6 separate regions of the Homo sapiens genome follow, and all the other regions are linked to region 5. Evidence: promoter capture Hi-C in 16 types of primary human blood cells and fetal thymus (Javierre and others, 2016). All regions are on one chromosome and are shown on one strand. Each heading gives the region's core, a stretch centred on a gene start or on the middle of the fragment in contact. The rest is flanking DNA. Distances are from core to core; before and after follow the strand shown.

What was found. Contacts are between HindIII fragments. The CHiCAGO score rates a contact against its expected background, and 5 or more counts as called.
Region 1: a contact is called between a fragment that was not itself captured here and the fragment with the promoter of HIGD2B in region 5, in 6 of 17 cell types (naive CD4 T cells, non-activated CD4 T cells, total CD8 T cells and 3 more). The highest score is 8.5, in naive CD4 T cells.
Region 2: a fragment that was not itself captured here is called in contact with the fragment with the promoter of HIGD2B in region 5 in 1 of 17 cell types (naive CD8 T cells); the score reaches 5.5 in naive CD8 T cells.
Region 3: a fragment that was not itself captured here is called in contact with the fragment with the promoter of HIGD2B in region 5 in 2 of 17 cell types (M2 macrophages and naive CD4 T cells); the score reaches 6.2 in M2 macrophages.
Region 4: a fragment that was not itself captured here is called in contact with the fragment with the promoter of HIGD2B in region 5 in 2 of 17 cell types (total CD4 T cells and naive CD8 T cells); the score reaches 6.0 in total CD4 T cells.
Region 6: a fragment that was not itself captured here is called in contact with the fragment with the promoter of HIGD2B in region 5 in 1 of 17 cell types (naive CD4 T cells); the score reaches 5.2 in naive CD4 T cells.

What each region holds. Positions count from the first base shown.
Region 1 is chr15:73,048,505-73,051,204 of GRCh38, reverse strand. No RefSeq gene overlaps it. Among named protein-coding and RNA genes, the nearest start is that of NEO1, 2.6 kb to the left of the region's middle. The HindIII fragment of the contact is 1,546 bases long and covers 579-2,124 here.
Region 2 is chr15:72,265,364-72,268,063 of GRCh38, reverse strand. It overlaps PARP6 (poly(ADP-ribose) polymerase family member 6), which reads left to right. Exons shown (of 24, transcript NM_001323532.2): 3 at 393-589; 4 at 1,242-1,319; 5 at 2,073-2,167; 6 at 2,591-2,651. The coding sequence starts at 587. Among named protein-coding and RNA genes, the nearest start is that of PARP6, 5.8 kb to the left of the region's middle. The HindIII fragment of the contact is 4,663 bases long and covers 1-2,700 here.
Region 3 is chr15:73,092,994-73,095,693 of GRCh38, reverse strand. The region is part of intron 1 of NEO1 (neogenin 1); the gene reads right to left. Among named protein-coding and RNA genes, the nearest start is that of NEO1, 42 kb to the right of the region's middle. The HindIII fragment of the contact is 3,259 bases long and covers 1-2,700 here.
Region 4 is chr15:73,075,612-73,078,311 of GRCh38, reverse strand. All of the region lies in intron 1 of NEO1 (neogenin 1), which reads right to left. Among named protein-coding and RNA genes, the nearest start is that of NEO1, 24 kb to the right of the region's middle. The HindIII fragment of the contact is 867 bases long and covers 834-1,700 here.
Region 5 is chr15:72,684,754-72,687,453 of GRCh38, reverse strand. HIGD2B (HIG1 hypoxia inducible domain family member 2B) reads left to right here and starts at 1,272. Exons shown (of 3, transcript NM_001350932.3): 1 at 1,272-1,636. BBS4 (Bardet-Biedl syndrome 4) reads right to left here and starts at 1,247. Exons shown (of 16, transcript NM_033028.5): 1 at 1,203-1,247. The coding sequence starts at 1,226. The HindIII fragment of the contact is 12,662 bases long and covers 823-2,700 here.
Region 6 is chr15:72,370,348-72,373,047 of GRCh38, reverse strand. The region is part of intron 1 of HEXA (hexosaminidase subunit alpha); the gene reads left to right. Among named protein-coding and RNA genes, the nearest start is that of HEXA, 4.3 kb to the left of the region's middle. The HindIII fragment of the contact is 4,935 bases long and covers 1-2,700 here.

The sequences.
Region 1 (2,700 bases), core at 102-2,601, 360 kb before region 5:
GTGTAGTCGATAACCGAAATGTCTTGCTTCCCACAAGAAAATGGCTATTTCACTAACATATCCCTCTGTGCTTTCTCATAGTTACTTTCCAAAGATATTTTATTCTAAAGCGCCAAAATGAACAATGTAAGACATGGATTAACGTCGGGAGGGAAGAGCTCAGAATCTTCATAAAACCTTAAATCATCAAAACGGTGAAATTAGGAATTCTCATGCTAGTTCTTTGAAACAATTGACTTAATAGAGGAAACACATGCTTATGGTTTTTCACTAGGGAAACCATTTAAATACCTTTTTGTTTTGGTTAGAGTTGTTAACCAGCAAAAATATTTCCTAAATACCCGTGATTGACCTGTTAAATTAGAAATAGATTACCTCCCAATTACTTCACAAGTATTTGCTTAATTAACCTTTAATAATCACATCATTATTCAGTTTTCTGAGATAATTAATGAGAAAAGCTCTTTGAAAACTGTAAATTGCCTTGCAAATGTTAATTTCCTGATATCTTTTCTAAGTCTGGAAAAATTTCATTATATTAAACCTATAACGTGTAATATGACTTCTGAGATGAAGCTTACATTTATCTCCAAGTTTTGAAAAATACATGAGTTGTGGCTAATAACAGACTGATTTTCATATATGACTTATATGAACTGTCTCACTAATTTATCAGCCCACTGTGTATATCAGGTTAATATCAAAAAGTTTAAAACAGTTGTATATTTCTGGCTTCTGATTAAATCACAATTTTAATAAAACCCACTCTATTAAACCACTAGTAGATGGAGCCCCAGATTAAAGCTACAGATCCTAAATCAGTTCAAGATAGTTAAGTAACTCAGGCACACACTTGAATTCAGCTCCTTTACTTTGTTTCAAAGTCACTGACACTGTCGACATGCCCTTTAAAAATCATCATTGAGTAATTAACCTGTTCTTTGTTTAGTAAAGCATATCTGAGAAAAGATTTTCTTAGGCATCTCTTTTATCATTCTTATTCTCCCAACAAGATTTTCAACAAATACTTCAGCCTGCACGTATACTGCTAATCAACACTTTTATGTTGTCTAAACTATCAATCTATGAAGAGATATTAAACCACTGGTGAAATTAACAGTTTTTTCATCTAAGTAAAGTTAGAACATGAGGCCCATGTTCAAGGAATAAGTGCACAAAGAAACTTTAGAGCAAAGAAAACAGAGTGGCCATTGTGTGTCTGTAAAAGTTATCGAAATGCAGGCCAAAAATAACTAGACTGATATCTTGTGAAATTTATGCTAATGTATTTTGATATAAAAATTACATGAAATATTAAAGCCTATGAATATAAAACTTGGTAGGAATCTTATTCTCTATAGTAAAAGGATTTTTTTTTCAACATTAGAAAGGACGTACAATTCAGTGTTTAACTGCTGGCAGTAATGAGATTCTGCAGCTGATTCCCTGGCTGAATCCCAGTGTCCGAGGTTGAGAAGAAGAAAGCTAGTCCCCTGACTAGCAGATCTCAGGATAGAACACTTCCTAGTCACAGCAGACTTCAACTAGAAGTTGCCCCAGTCTTAAGAAAGTGATTTTCTTCTGCACAGAGATTGTTATTTTTATATTTGCCCTTTACATTCCACTAGGTAAGAATTTTTATTTTCTCCCGTTCTCCTTCAGAAGCCACCTGCTCTAGGGAGCCATCTCTGATTAAGCGTAATTAAAAAGGATGTGTGCTCCTTTTTAAGTACAAGCATGCTCAATATTAATTTTGCTTGTCACATGTTGCTTAGTTGATCACATATCTTTAGTTCAACAACAATCTATTAATTCAGCAAAAATTATTGAGGACCTGTTTTCACCAAGTATTGTGCTGGATGCTGGGATAACAAAATTATTGGTTCATTCATTTAATATTTATAAAGTACATCCTGTGTCTCTGGTCCTGGCTTATGTTAAGGGAAGACAGTGATGAGCCAGATAAACAAAGTTCCCAGTCTAGCAGAAAGGGTAAACAATTATAACAAAGAAGTGTAAAGACTGTTATGGTAAGGAAAGATAAGGAGTGTGGGAAAACTTAGTAAGAGCATCTAACTTGACTAAATTGTGTGTGGGGGTGGGAGAAGGAGAATTAGAGAAGCTTTGGCCTCTAAACAGAGACCTGAAGGTAGATAGGAGTCAGCCACGCCTACAGGTGGGATTTGACCTCAGATTTGCGTTTTAGAGGGAACACTGAGGCTGCTTCTTGGAGTGTAGTTTGGAAGAAGTCGAGACCAAAAAAAAAAAAAAACAGTTCAGATTTTGTTACAATAGTCTAGGGAGGAGATGATGGTGGCCTGGAGTAAAGCAAAGGGGATTAAGAAAAGTGAACAGATAAGAGAGAGATTTAGGAGATAGATAGAAACAGCAGGGGTGTGTGGGAGAGATAGGAGATGTGGGTAACTCAGATTTCAACTTGGGAAGCTGAATGAAGGTGGTGGCATTCACTGAGGGGGGAATGAGAAAGATGAGCAGATGGGAGACAATGTTAGTTTAACTTTGGACAAGGAAATTTAAAGTACCTATGCATACATAGGTACTTTAAATACATCTGAGTAGAAATATCAGTAAGCCGTTCATTACTTGGATCTGGAGTTTAGCAGGGAGATAGGACTGGAGAAGTGAGTCATCAGCATACACTACATATGCCTGAGTATAAGGTGCTTCTGAAAATAAGGT
Region 2 (2,700 bases), core at 97-2,596, 420 kb after region 5:
AAGTGTATTAATAGCCAGGTGCAATGGCTCACGCCTGTATTCCCAGCAATTTGGGAGGCCGAGGCCGGTAGGTCACCTGAAGTCGGGAGTTCGAGACCAGCCTGGCCAATGTGGTGAAACCCCATCTCTACTGAAAATATTAAAATTAGCTGGGCGTGGCAGCAGGCACCTGTAATTCCAGCTACTTGGGAGGCTGAGGCATGAGAATTACTTGAACCCAGGAGGCGGAGGTTGCAGTGAGCCAAGATCGCGCCATTGCACTCCAGCCTGGGCGACAAGAGCGAAACTCTGTCTCAAAAAAAAAAAGTGTATTGATAAATACGTGTGCCTGTATATATACACCACCCAGCTATTAAGTGGTGATGAAACCCATTATTATCTACTTTCCACAGGACAGTGACTTGTTACCACCGCAACAGCAGAGCCTGCCATCCCCAACAGATCACCAGTTGTCCCTGACATCGTGCCCTACCTTGTCTCCCTTTGTGGTCTCCTAAATGCCCATCTCGTTGGCCTTGGTTCGGCTAGTGGTATGGAGGGGTGCTGCCTAGCACTGACCTGAGAGTGTGTGTGACCCACTGACCCAATGGTGAGAACTGACTGCCCACCTCTCCAACTGATTGTTCAAAGGGTAGAGGAGACAAAGTGCAGATCTCACCCTTTCTTGGTATTTTCCCTTCTACCCTTTTGGAAGATAGAGTGGCTATTTGAAGTTAAAGGAAAGGGAAGGGGCACAGAAACAGTATTACTTGGTGTGTTTGTGTAGTGGGTTTTCTTGGGGAGGGAGAGGAGAGTTAAGTACTTTAAAGGATAGAAAGAAAATAATGAGACAAGAGAGTTTAGGTGTGCTTGGGAACTGTCTTAGGTAATGATCCTGGAAGAGGCCAGCTTGTACTGGAACCCAGATATGCTTAGGAGTCAACCTTGACATTGAAGTCATTTGCATTTCTTTCCTACTGGCTACCAGAGCCTCTCAGTCATCATACTGAGACTTCAGAAGGCCAAAATTCCCTAGATGTTTTCCTCTGTCCCACTAAGAGCTAGTTTATGGATATGATCATATCAGGAAGAGACTGAGACTCTCACAAAGGGTGACATGAAAGGTGTAAAGGGATCAGGGCTTCAGTTATTCTATATTTCCCAATCTTTGTGGGAATCTGTTCCTCACCATATCATCCCACGCCTTTCCATGGGATAATAGGGACCTAACAAAGCATGATATCCTTATTTCTCACCACTAGGACATCAAAGGCCAGTTCTGGAATGATGACGACTCGGAGGGAGATAATGAATCAGAGGAATTTCTCTATGGCGTTCAGGTGAGGTTACATCTCCCAAGACCCCCGTGTTGGATGGTCTAGATATGTGCTGCTTTTTGGATACATCAGGAGTGAAAGAGGTTCTGGAGCACAGATGAGATGAGGTTATAATGTTGATGTGGTCTGAGCATGGTCTTGTCAGAGCTGATCCCGTGCCCTTGCTCTTTCTTTGGAGTCATACCTGTTCCAGAGTAAACTACATCCTCTGTATGTGGAGACTACCCATATCTTAATTAGACATAATTATTTTCTGACTTTTATAACACTAGCCAGTGGGGGTAGTTTCATTCATTAGGGTCACATCTTAAAAGATTACTCTGCCAGCGTTTGCTTAATGCCATCACTACCCAGGGCACAGTCCTGAGCAGAAGTACCCAGACTCTCAGAATGCTCTTCACTTAGAACCAATCTTAGGAAACCTGTAACTCTTCAGCCTGTTCTGAGTTGTCATAGAAGGTATCCTGGTCAAGGTCTGAGAGAAAAGCTGGAGATTTAAGGAAGTGAACTCCAAGCAAAAGCCTACATTTGGTCTGCTGAACCTTTTTAAAGTCATGATGAGATGGAGACCTCTGTTAATGAAATCCCTTGCTAGGGTCACCACTGAGAACCCCTTCACATAAGTGGCTTTTACTTCCCCTATACTGCTGTCTGATTTCTCCTGTTCCTGGTGTCTTTTCATATTCTTTTTATTATCTCTCTCTTTCCCTCGTCTTTTTCCACCTCTCTCCACCACCATTTTTGCTGCTATCTCAGGGGAGCTGTGCAGCTGACCTGTATCGACACCCACAGCTTGATGCAGACATTGAAGCCGTGAAGGAGATCTACAGTGAGAACTCTGTATCCATCAGGTGGGACTCTACTTCAGGGGTGGCAGGGGAGCAAGTCACTTCTTTCTGAGTTGTTAAAAGGCTAGAGGTTTTTCTTTTTATGGTATGATAGTGGGATAAATTATGAACTTAATGATAGAAAATGCTCAGAATAAATGAGCTTGGCTGAGAGTAGAGAGTAAGGCCACTTTTCTTAGGAATTCCCTCTTATCCTAGACCCCTCTGGGCCAGTAGTTTCACCTTTCAGGTAAGAAATGCTTTTGGCCTGGAAGTAGATCCTGATCAGGTAAGTGGTGTAAGGCTATAGCTAAGACCCTAGGTACAAAACTGTCATCCACTCTTCCCTTTCCCCTGTCCCCAGGCTCAGTTCTCTTTCCAACTCAGTTTCTATTCCCTTCTTTCTCCCTTAATGAGTCTCACCTGTTGTCACCTGTATCTCTATAGAGAATATGGAACTATCGATGACGTGGACATTGACCTCCACATCAACATCAGCTTCCTCGATGTAAGTGGGGCTAGTACCTGCCAACAACATGTCTAGCTGGACTTGTGGA
Region 3 (2,700 bases), core at 84-2,583, 410 kb before region 5:
TAATCTCAAAAAAAAAAAAACAAATAAAGACTAATTGGTCATCTTTCGTGAATGCTATAGAACCAAATCATCTTGAAAACTTTTCAAAAGGAAGAGGAAAAAAATTAAACATCTTTCCCCATCAAACTGTTCCTGGTGGCAATAAAATTGTTGGTGAAAGTTTCTGTTTATAGAAGTACTCTACCAAATAAATGAAAAAATGATAGATTATCACTATTTTGCAACTCCTAATGAATCAACAGCTCTAGGCAATAAAAAGTAAACGGTACAGAAGTCAGCAAATATTTTCTGTAGAGGGCCAGACAGAAAATATGTTAGGCTTTTCAGGCTACACACAGTTGCTGTCGCAAATTCTCCTTTGCTTATTTTTTTAATTCTTTTTTAAAAACACTTTCAAAATGTAAAAATCAACATTAGCTTATAGGTTATTTAAAAAACAAGCCAGAGACAACTGACCATTAGCTGTTAAGTTTTTTTTTTTTTTTTAAGACAGAGTCTCACTCTGTCGCCAGGCTGGAGTGCAGTGGCACAATCTCAGCTCACTACAACCTCTGCCTCCTGGGTTCAAGCAATTCTCCTGCCTTAGCCTCCTGAGTAGCTGAAACTTCAGGTGCACACCACCATGCCCGGCTAATTTCTGTATTTTCAGTAGAGACGGGGTTTCACCATGTTGGCCAGGATGGTCTCAATCTCTTGACCTCGTGATCCGCCCGCCTCAGCCTCCCAAAGTGCTGGGCTTATAGGTGTGAGCCACCGTGCCCAGCCTAGCTATGGTTTTCTAAACCCTGGTAGCTAATAGCAACAGAGAAACAGACCCAAACAGACATTACACACCTCTTGATGAAAGAATAAATTACCATCACCTATGTGGCAGTCCAACAAAACCCTGAAATGATCAAATCTCTAGATCCAACTAACAATTAAGAAACAAAAATAAAAATAAAAAAGACAGAGGAAGATGGTAAGAAACACCATGGGGAAGCAACCAGCAATATCCCAACCATGTGGAAATTCTTCTGGACAAATGACAAAGAAGAAAACAGGGAGGTGAAGAGGGGATAATTATCACTTAAAAGAAACTTAAAACGTATACCAATCAATTGTGTAGATACTAATTCCAATTCAAACAACAACAAAATCTTTAGAAAGGCTATTGTATAGAATATACATTGCAGCATTATTCATAATAGCCAAAAGGTATAAACACGCAAATAAACCAATGTCCTTCAACTAATGATTATATAACATGTATTATATCCAGACAATGAAGTTATTATTTGGCCATAAAAAGGAATGAAATACTAATACAAGCTACAACATGGACGAACCTTGAAAACATCATGCTAAGTAAAAGCTGCCAGGCACAAAAGATCACATATTATATGACTTCATTTACATGAAATATCCCGAATAGGTAAATCAAAAGAGTGTTATCTAGGACCGGGGAACATGAGAAATGGACAGTAGACTGCTTATGGGGTATAAGATTTCTTTTGGGGTGATGAAAATGTTCTAAAATTGATTGCGGCAATGGCTGCACATCTGTGAATATATCAAAAGCTACTGAGTTGCACATTTTAAATAGGTGGATTATATAGTATGTGAGTTATATCGCAATTAAAAAAAATAGTTATAGAAGGAACCAGGGCTCCTTGAAGGAATGGTTAATTCTAAAATTAGGCAAGAAATACAAATGATGAGTCTGGAGCATGTTGTAGTGCCCAAAGGTAAGGAAGTGCTAAAAACAAAACAAAACAAAAAGCACAATGATGGAGGTATGTCAATGAGACACCGGGGCCAAATTAAGGAGCTTCCGGCCAGGCACAGTGGCTCGTGCCTATAATCCCAGCACTCTGGGAGGCCAAGGCAGGTGGATTGCTTGAGCTTAGGAGTTCGAGACCAGCCAGGGAAGCATGGCGAAACCCTGTCTCTACAAAAAATACAAAAAATTAGCCAGGCGTGGTTGGTAGTGCACGCCTGTGGTCCCAGCTACTTGGGAGGTTGAGGTGGGAGGATCACCTGAGCCTGGGAGGCAGAGGTTGCAGTGAGCTGTAAGCATGTCACTGCACTCCAGCCTGGGTGACAGAGCACGACCTTGTATCCAAAAAGAAAAAAAAAAAAAGGAACTTCCCATGGTCAAAGCTGAAACAATTTAAGCAACAAAATAAAGGATTACTGGATTATAATCCAAAGTACAAAATAAATACCCATGAGTTCATAATATACAGTTGAAAGATTTTTAAATGGAGAAAAAAGACAAATACCCCATGCAGAAGAATTCCAAATAATTCACATAGAAACACCACCCTCTACGAGGGAGAACATAATTCCCCACTCCTGAAGTGCAGGCTGCCCATGGTGACTTTCTTCTCAAAAGAGTACAGTATGGAAAAAGGTAGGTGACTTTACCAGGGAGAACTTGACAAACACAATCTCAGCCAGGTGATCAAGGTCAATGTTAATAGTGATACATCATGTTGATATTATGTATCAATGCCTTGAAATGGTGTGATGGCACTTTACCTCTGTGGTCATCCTTCCAAAACCATAAGCCCCAGTCTAATCCTGAGAAAAACATCAGACAAATCCTAACAGAGAAACATTCTATAAAATACCTGACCAGTACTCCTTAAAACTATCAAGGTCATCAAAAATAAGGAAAGTCTGAGAAACTATCACAGCCAAGAGAGCCCAAGAAGA
Region 4 (2,700 bases), core at 18-2,517, 390 kb before region 5:
TTGTCAATATCCTTCTCCCTGCTTCTCCTGCAGGGATTCTCTAGCTTACTTGAACAGGGAACACTTTCCCCTCCCCTAATATAAAACTATTAAACTACTAGATTAGAAGAACAATGGTCCATGAAACACCAACTTGGGTAAACAGCCTAGACTGAACCCACTCTTCCAATTCACAGTATACACCACTGTCAGATCAAGGACGCTTCTTTTCTATCCCTTTCTTGTGCCACTTCACATCACCACCCTAAACCTCCAAGTAAATTACTTTCTGTTGCCCATATCACCAATGCTTTCCCACTTCTGGATGTTTGCTCATTATACTTCCTCTCCCGCTTCCCATCGCCATAGGTCTGTCTCCACTGCTAAGCCAGGGCCAACATCCTGCGCAATGGACAGAGGAACCATGTACCCAGCCTTCAAGATCTATCAAATTCTATCATCCCATAAAGCTTACACTGAGTTGCTTCATGGAAGTAACCTTCTCATTTTTAGAAAACCCAAAGCACTCTGCACCCCTTTTACAGCATATATCACCTTCTCCTCAGCAGTATTATTTTTACGTATGATATGCCATTTGTTAGACTGGTAACTTATTTCTCCCGTTACCTAGCACAGTGCCTCATACATAGCTGCTCAATAAATGCTTGTTGAATGAATAAATGAGTCTGAGAATCTATTTCCCATCAGAGAATCATAATTAGTTTTTGCTAAACACAGTTAAATAGACTGGACTTCTCCTTCAGAGAACACAAACTATTTGAAATTGCCAAGAGCTACATCTTAAATCAGAGAAAGTCACTGAGCTGTACAGCAGAACTTCATTCACACAAGCTTCCTTGTACTTACTTGTTTATGTGTTCTTCTCTGTGAAACAGGCCTTTATACTGCCAAAACTGAGTAGGGTGGAGAACATAACTAGTTTAATTTGTGTTTAAAAATATGCAGTCAATTAGAATGTAGTTATGACAACCTGAAAACGGTGGCTCATGCCTGTTATCCCAGCACTTTGGGAGGCCGAGGTGAGTGGATCACCTGAGGTCAGGAGTTCAAGACCAGCCTGGCCAACATGGCAAAACCCCATCTCTACTAGAAATACAAAAATTAGCCAGGCGTGGTGGCGGGCACCTGTAATCCCAGCTACTCGGGAGGCTGAGGCAGGAGAATCACTAGAACCTGAGAGGCAGAGGTTCTGGGGAGCTGAGATCATGTCACTACACTCCAGCCTGTGCCAGAGAGAGAGACTCTGTCTCAAAATAAATAAATTAATTAATTTAAAAAAATTGCTATGTTATTATAAGATATCACTATCCTACAGTTTTCCTCTAAATAATCATAGAATATGTTTCTGAACTTTTTCTGATAACTCAGTTCTTCCACAGAAAGTGCCTTACCTCCTACAATAATCCCTGGAGAGAAGAAGGACCTAAGAAAACACAGTTGTCTTATAAACCAAAACATGATCCTTCTAAATCCTTGAAGAGGAACAGCAATGTTGTGAGAAAGAGGAAAGGTAGAGATAAGAAAAGAAGGTAGCCTGAGCAGTAGCAAAATAAATGTGAGAAAGATCAGGCTTGCTTCCAAAGAAAAAAATCAGTTAACAAAAGACAGGGACTGCTTTGGGGTGTGAGGAGGTGGGTGGGGAGAACATGCTGAGGTTGGGGGAGTTGGAAATACAAACTTAGAATGAAGTTACTTAAGCTTTGCACTGTACAAGATCCCAGGCCTTCTCCAAATGCCACACCACTCAGAGGTCCTCTCATGCTTACTGTCAGTACCTTCTATTTATCTATACAACCAATACTTACTGAAAATCAACTATGGGCCTGGCACTCTTCTAGGCACTGGAAAAATAGTAAGTAGCATTCATTTAGCAGAAAGGACAGAGATATGACATTGTTACTTAACTTCTTTAGGTCCTTCAGTCTCCAATCAGATCGTAAACCTTTTGAAGGTAGGACCTCTCAACTAGATTACAAACACCTTAAGAGCAGGGTAAAAATTATATACTAAATGTCATTTTCTTCACAGTCTCTGCGTATCTAAAAATATCACAGAATCTATTCATGCCCCCATATTGCTATTAATAAAAATGAAAATATTCATCGTGGCTGTTTGCAGGCAATGTTATACCATCACAAACCAAAAGCAGACAAAAGGGAGATCTGAGCCGCACCTTAATTCTTGGTCCTTTGTACTTCTATTAATTCCACTGGAAACATCATTTCACGATCTCCCTCCCCATATTTCTATTCTCTCCTTCCATGCTCAACTGTTCCCTAAATTATTGCAAATATGAGACATTCATTCAAAACCTGGTGAACTTTGTGCTAAAGCTTAGCAAAAAAAGGAAATTCAAAACAGACAAAAATAGGTTACAACTTACAAAAGAATGTGGCATAATCCTAGTCACAGCTCAAGTAAAGTGCAACCTCTCTGGAAAAGAGAGGAAGGAAGGGGTTGAAGCAGATGATCTTGGGGGTCTTCTTCCAGTTAAAACAATTCTATGATTCACAAATTCTGACAAGCACACACACAAGCACACAGATTAAACAATTTTACAATAGGACAGCACTATTTGGCTCAACTGATTGGGCAGAATTCCCTAGTTGGTGACGTGGCATCCTATGATACAAAAGAAACCATCAACAGGCTCAATCTTCACATGGCCAGTGTTTACACTGACACCCTTCCAGTGTCTCT
Region 5 (2,700 bases), core at 23-2,522:
TTTTGTATTTTTAGTAGAGACGGGGTTTCACCATGTTGGCCAGGATGGTCTCAAACTCATGACCTCAAGTGATCCACCCGTCTCGGCCTCCCAAAGTGCTGGGATTACAGGCGTGATGCACCGCGTCCGGCCTAGCTATTTTAAATTTCTTAGCTTAATAAAAATGTTTCGGCCGGGCGTGGTGGCAGGCGCCTGTATTCTCAGCTAATCCGGAGGCTGAGGCAGGAGAATTGCTGGAACCTGGGAGGCGGAGGTTGCAGTGAGCCGAGATCGCGCCATTGCACTCCAGCCCGGGCCGACAACAGCGACACTCCGTCTCAAAAAAAAAAGTTTCTGTCTTCAGAGTTTTCTAATTAGACTAGAATAATATGACTACTCTGCAAATGAGAGTAGAAAACAAACAAAAGGCCCTCTAACAATAACACTAACCTTGCTGCTTAGCCAAAACTAAGTTGTAAAACAGCCAAAGGCTGCTATTTGTACTGTTTTCCAGGGCGTTTTTCGAAAGACAATAAATTCCGAATACCTAAAATCATTCTAACAAATGGACAGAACAGGCTTTCAAACCCAACACTAAAGCAAGGTAAACAAAGCTTCACACTTGGCACTTTACCGAAATTAGATCCAATTATAGATATATGCCTCAAAAAATAGCGACTAGGTCATCCTGAATTCATCGGGTTCCTCTATATTAGCAGTTCTGTGGAGTGAACGCCCAACTCAGCCTTCAGATGAATTCCAAAACCGTACTTTCCTAAACTTAATCACCACAGAAAAAACACAGTCCCGCTCCACTGGCAGAAGGCAGTGACGCTGCAAGCTTCCAGGCATGTTAAATTCCCAATTCACGGGATTAACAGGAACTGTCTACACAAGTGCTAGTCATTACCTTCCAAACCCCCGAGACAGAAAAAGATGGCACTACGGTAAGAGCCATTACTGGTGAAAAGTCTCCCTTCTCCGTCCAGCGCACCCCAAGAGGGACTACAGTCCTAGAACAGGACCTGTGCTGCTAAGTATCCAGACTTGCCCCAGGCGACCAGTTCCCGGGACAGTAAAAAGGGGACCGTGTCGCCCCGCCCACCCTGAGACGCTCGGCACCCAGCTCCGCCTCTCTCCAGGAACCGCTGCATGGGACAAAAGCCACCCGCCAGCTTGCCTTGCCCTGCGGCCGGGCAACTAAAGAGAATCTCGGCGCTCACCGTCGCGACTCTCTCCTCAGCCATTTTAGCTCAGCCCACCGCTGCGCGGCCGGAAGTCGGCGGTTTCCCAGACGACGAGGCAAGCGGAAGTCGTAGGGCTGTGGAGGACTGTGAGGAAGCGGGGGAAGGAAGTAAATCGCCGAGTGACCTAAGGAATCAGGGGGAGGATTAGGGTCTGCTCCACAGAAGGCTTACCTCTGAAAGAGTCGGGGAGGGAATGCGCAGCCACTCGCTGCCTTTATCCCGAGAAGCCCCTAACACCCCTCGCCGTGGTCTGTACATGGTCTGTACCTCCGGCCGCGCTGGCTGGTAGGCCAGCCACCTGGGATGGCAGCCTAGTTCTCCCGCCACCTTACCCTGCCCTGACTCTAATCTGCATTTAATTCAGTCCTTCTTCCGGGAGATTTCGGCGGAGAATTTCTTTCTCGCCTTAGGTACAAAACTCCCCGTTTCTTGGCTGTCACTATCGAACTGAGGTACTCACCTTATCAGCTTCCCACTCTTGTTTACTCCAGAGTTTGCAAACATGCTCCTGGTGGGCTGCATTTGAACGGCAGTCTTTTGATTGGAAATATTTAAAAGTTAGGAGATTTCACAAGAAATCGGCCATGGGATAAAGAGACGACAGTCGGCGTTTTCTGCAAGGCAGTGAAATAGATCTGAATAGCGGCTGCGACTGTAGATAACTTCCCTTCCTAACATACTTAAGGCGTTCTCCATTACCTGTCTGGCCCCCGGTGCGGTGAATTAAATGTTTAGTGTTTCTAAACTAGGAAAACGTGTGGGCTTTGGAATCAAACATGAGTTCTGAATTTGACTACTGCATGACCTAAGCCCGTCGTTTCTTTGAGCCTCATTTATTAAAGTGCCGGGAGCTGTGTGATGAACAAAACGGAGGATCCCTGCACCTGAGCACTGACATTAGCCCCAATTCATACTTTTAAGTCTCGCCCTTGTAATTTAGACATAAAATCTGCCTCTCCCAATTCATTAACTGGGAAAGCATTTAAGACAAGTTTCTCCAGGCCTCTAAGAGAGGGAGAACCCCACTGACAATTAGAGTTACATAGAAGAAACAAGTACGGTAATCTATCCAAATACAAGGGGAAAGGACAGCAATAGAATAACAGCTCTTCTAAGTATTTCAGTAACACTCTCTCTTTTAATCTTTATAACAATCCCATGAGACTGTTGGTCTCCCACTTTTTTCAGATAAATACTCTGCCTTTCATTTATTAAAAATAAAATTTTCCAGCTTGGCCAGCATGGTGAAACCCCGTCTCTACTAAAAATACAAAAAATTAGTCGGGCATGGTGGTGCCCGCCTGTAATCGCAGCTACTCGGGAGGCTGAGTCAGGAGAATCACTTGAACCCAAGCGGCAGAGGTTGCAGTGAGCCGAGATCGCATTTCTGTGCTCCAGCCTGGGCGATAGAGGGAGACTCCGTCTAAAAAACAAAAATTTGCTGGGCTCGGTGGCTCACGCCTGTAATCCCAGG
Region 6 (2,700 bases), core at 194-2,693, 310 kb after region 5:
GCAATTCTCCCACCTCAGCCTCCTGAGTAGCTGGGACCACAGGAGCATGCCACCACACCTGGCTAATTTTTGTATTTTCTGTAGATGGGGTTTCGCCATGTTGCCCAAGCTGGTCTCCAATTCCTGAGCTCAAGTGATCCCCCTGCTTTGGCCTACCAAAGTCCTGGGATTACAGGGTGGAATGAGCCACCTGACCAGCCCAGTGTTTTTCCTAATGCAATACAACTTCTGGTTTTTGTCTGAACCTGAAACTAAGAATTCATACTCCCTTTTCTGAAAAAGAAGTCTGGTATTGAGGTTCAGTTCTATTTTGAATTCACCTTCAAGGGTTAGTCCCACCAGTTGCTAAATGGTCTGTGAAGGTGTTTAGTATTTGCCACCTTTCTTTGTCATTGAGAGGTGTTTCTACCAATTGGAGGGTGTGTGTTGCATGTTGTTGAACCTGTTAAATAGACTTATTTTAGGAACTAGATACTTGAATGAATCTAGTTCCCTGTTTGATTATTAAGCCACATCCTGTTTGCAAAGCAAAGATGTGATTATTTGGAATTTGGAATGGCACCCATCTAATGTTGCTCCAGACATTTAATAAGCATGGTGTGGAGCATGGTGCTTGATGGAGCTGATAAAGTCCAAATTTTTCCAAGTAAAGTGGCTAAGTCTAATTCTGCCATTAGACTGCATTTTTTTTTTTTTTTTGAGATGGAGTCTTGCTCTGTTGCCCAGGCTGGAATGCAGTGGTGTGATTTTGACTCACTGCAACCTCCACCTCCTGGGTTCAAGTGATTATCCTGCCTCAGCCTCCCAAGTAGCTGGGAATTCAGGCACCCACCACCATGCCTGGCTAATTTTTTATTTTTTAGTAGAGACGGGGTTTAGTAGCGATGGGGTTTCACCACGTTGGCCAGACTGGTCTCGAACTCCTGGCCTCATGTGATCTGCCCACCTCAAGATTACAGGTGTGAGCCACTGCACCTGGCCATGACTGCATTCTTCTTTGCTTTTCCTGAAACTGGTTGATAGAAGCCATAGTATATCATAGATATTATAAGGTTCCCATCCTGGTCTGATGTTCACCTGCACATCCCTGTGAGTTGCTGAGGATGCCATTGTCCTTCAACAGAATAATCCTGCCCCCCTTCTCCAGCCCTTTTATTCTGGAATGGAAGTAAGATTATTATATAAGAGCCTGTGTCCTTCTGCAGCCATTATCAGTATTTGATTTGCTCATCCTCAGATATTAAAGAAGTGACTAAATTAATAAATGGCATAGTTCATTATAATCTGGATCTCCTAAAATACCTTCTTTGGCCATTTCTTCTGTATCTGGAACGTTGTAGATATGTAGTAATTATTTGTAAAATATATTAACGTTAAAGAGCTACTTTGTGTAAACATTTGTAAGAAGGCTTTATGGGTTTGGGTTTTGTTTTCTTTTTTTTTTTTTTTTTTTTTTCTTTTAGAGACAGGGTCTTATTTTGTCACCCAGTCTGGAGTGCAGTGGCACAAACACAGCCCACTGCAGCCTCGACCTCCGAGGCTCAAGCTGTCCTCCCATCTCAGCCTCTTGAGTAGCTGGGACTACAGGTGCATAGCTAATTTTTGTAGAGATGGAGTACCACCATGTTGCCCCAGCTGGTCTCGAACCCCTGGGCTCAACCACTCTGCCTGCTTCAGCCACCCAAAGTGTTGGGATTACAGGTCTGAGAAGATCATCAAAAAGATATGATTTGCAGGTTTTCATTGAGGATTACCTTTCCTTTCAGGTTACCAATTTGGAGTGTAAGTGTGTGATTCCAGGCAAAGGATAATCACACTATGCTGCTTATTGTGTGATCCCAACTCGTGCTGCTCTTAACTCAGCATGCAGTGAGAGATGCATTGGGATTGCATCTAGGAGGGAAACAGATAAGGTCAAGCAGCTGGGCTGGGGAGAAAGAATAAGGCCGATTAGTTCTCTCCACTTTAATTGGGCTAGCGGCTAACTATACTTTAACCTTTCCCACGGCAAAGACAAGGCATATTCCTGCCAAAGATGATTGCCACTAAGTTTATTGTTTTAAAAGCAAAGAGGAAGAAAACAACACGGGAAGAAGGTTTTGTAGTAGAATTACTTTTTCTCATGAAGGGGTTTCTGGAGAACGAGGGATACATAGGAGAAATACAGTGATGAATAAATTGTCTTTAGAAAGAAGGTGATGGCAGAAGCACAGTTTTTAGTTGAAGGGCAAAATAAGTGTCATATTTCATTTTGAATCCCAGGGCCTAGATTAGCTTGGCCTGCAGTCTTCCACCAGCCTCTCTTCTCACAGCCCTGTTTTTTTCTTTTCTTTTCTTTCTTTTTTTTTTTAAGAAACAGGTCTTTCTCTGTCATTCAGACTGGAGTGCAGTGGTGTGATCACGGCTTACAGCAACCTCGAACTCCAGGACTCAAGCAGTCTTCCCGCCTCACTGATGAGTAGCTAGGACTACAGACGCATGCCACCGCACCCAGCTAATTTTTTTATTTTTTGCATTTTGTAGAGATGGGGGTCTTACTGTGTTGCCCAGGCTGGTCTTGAACCCCTGGCTTCAAGCGATCCTCTTGTCTCGGCCTCCCCGAGTGCTGAGATTACAGGTGTGAGCCACCATTTATTACCTAAAGCATGATACTTTTCTAGTATCCCTGTATAGTACTGAGTCCAAGAAGCTAAACTTGAT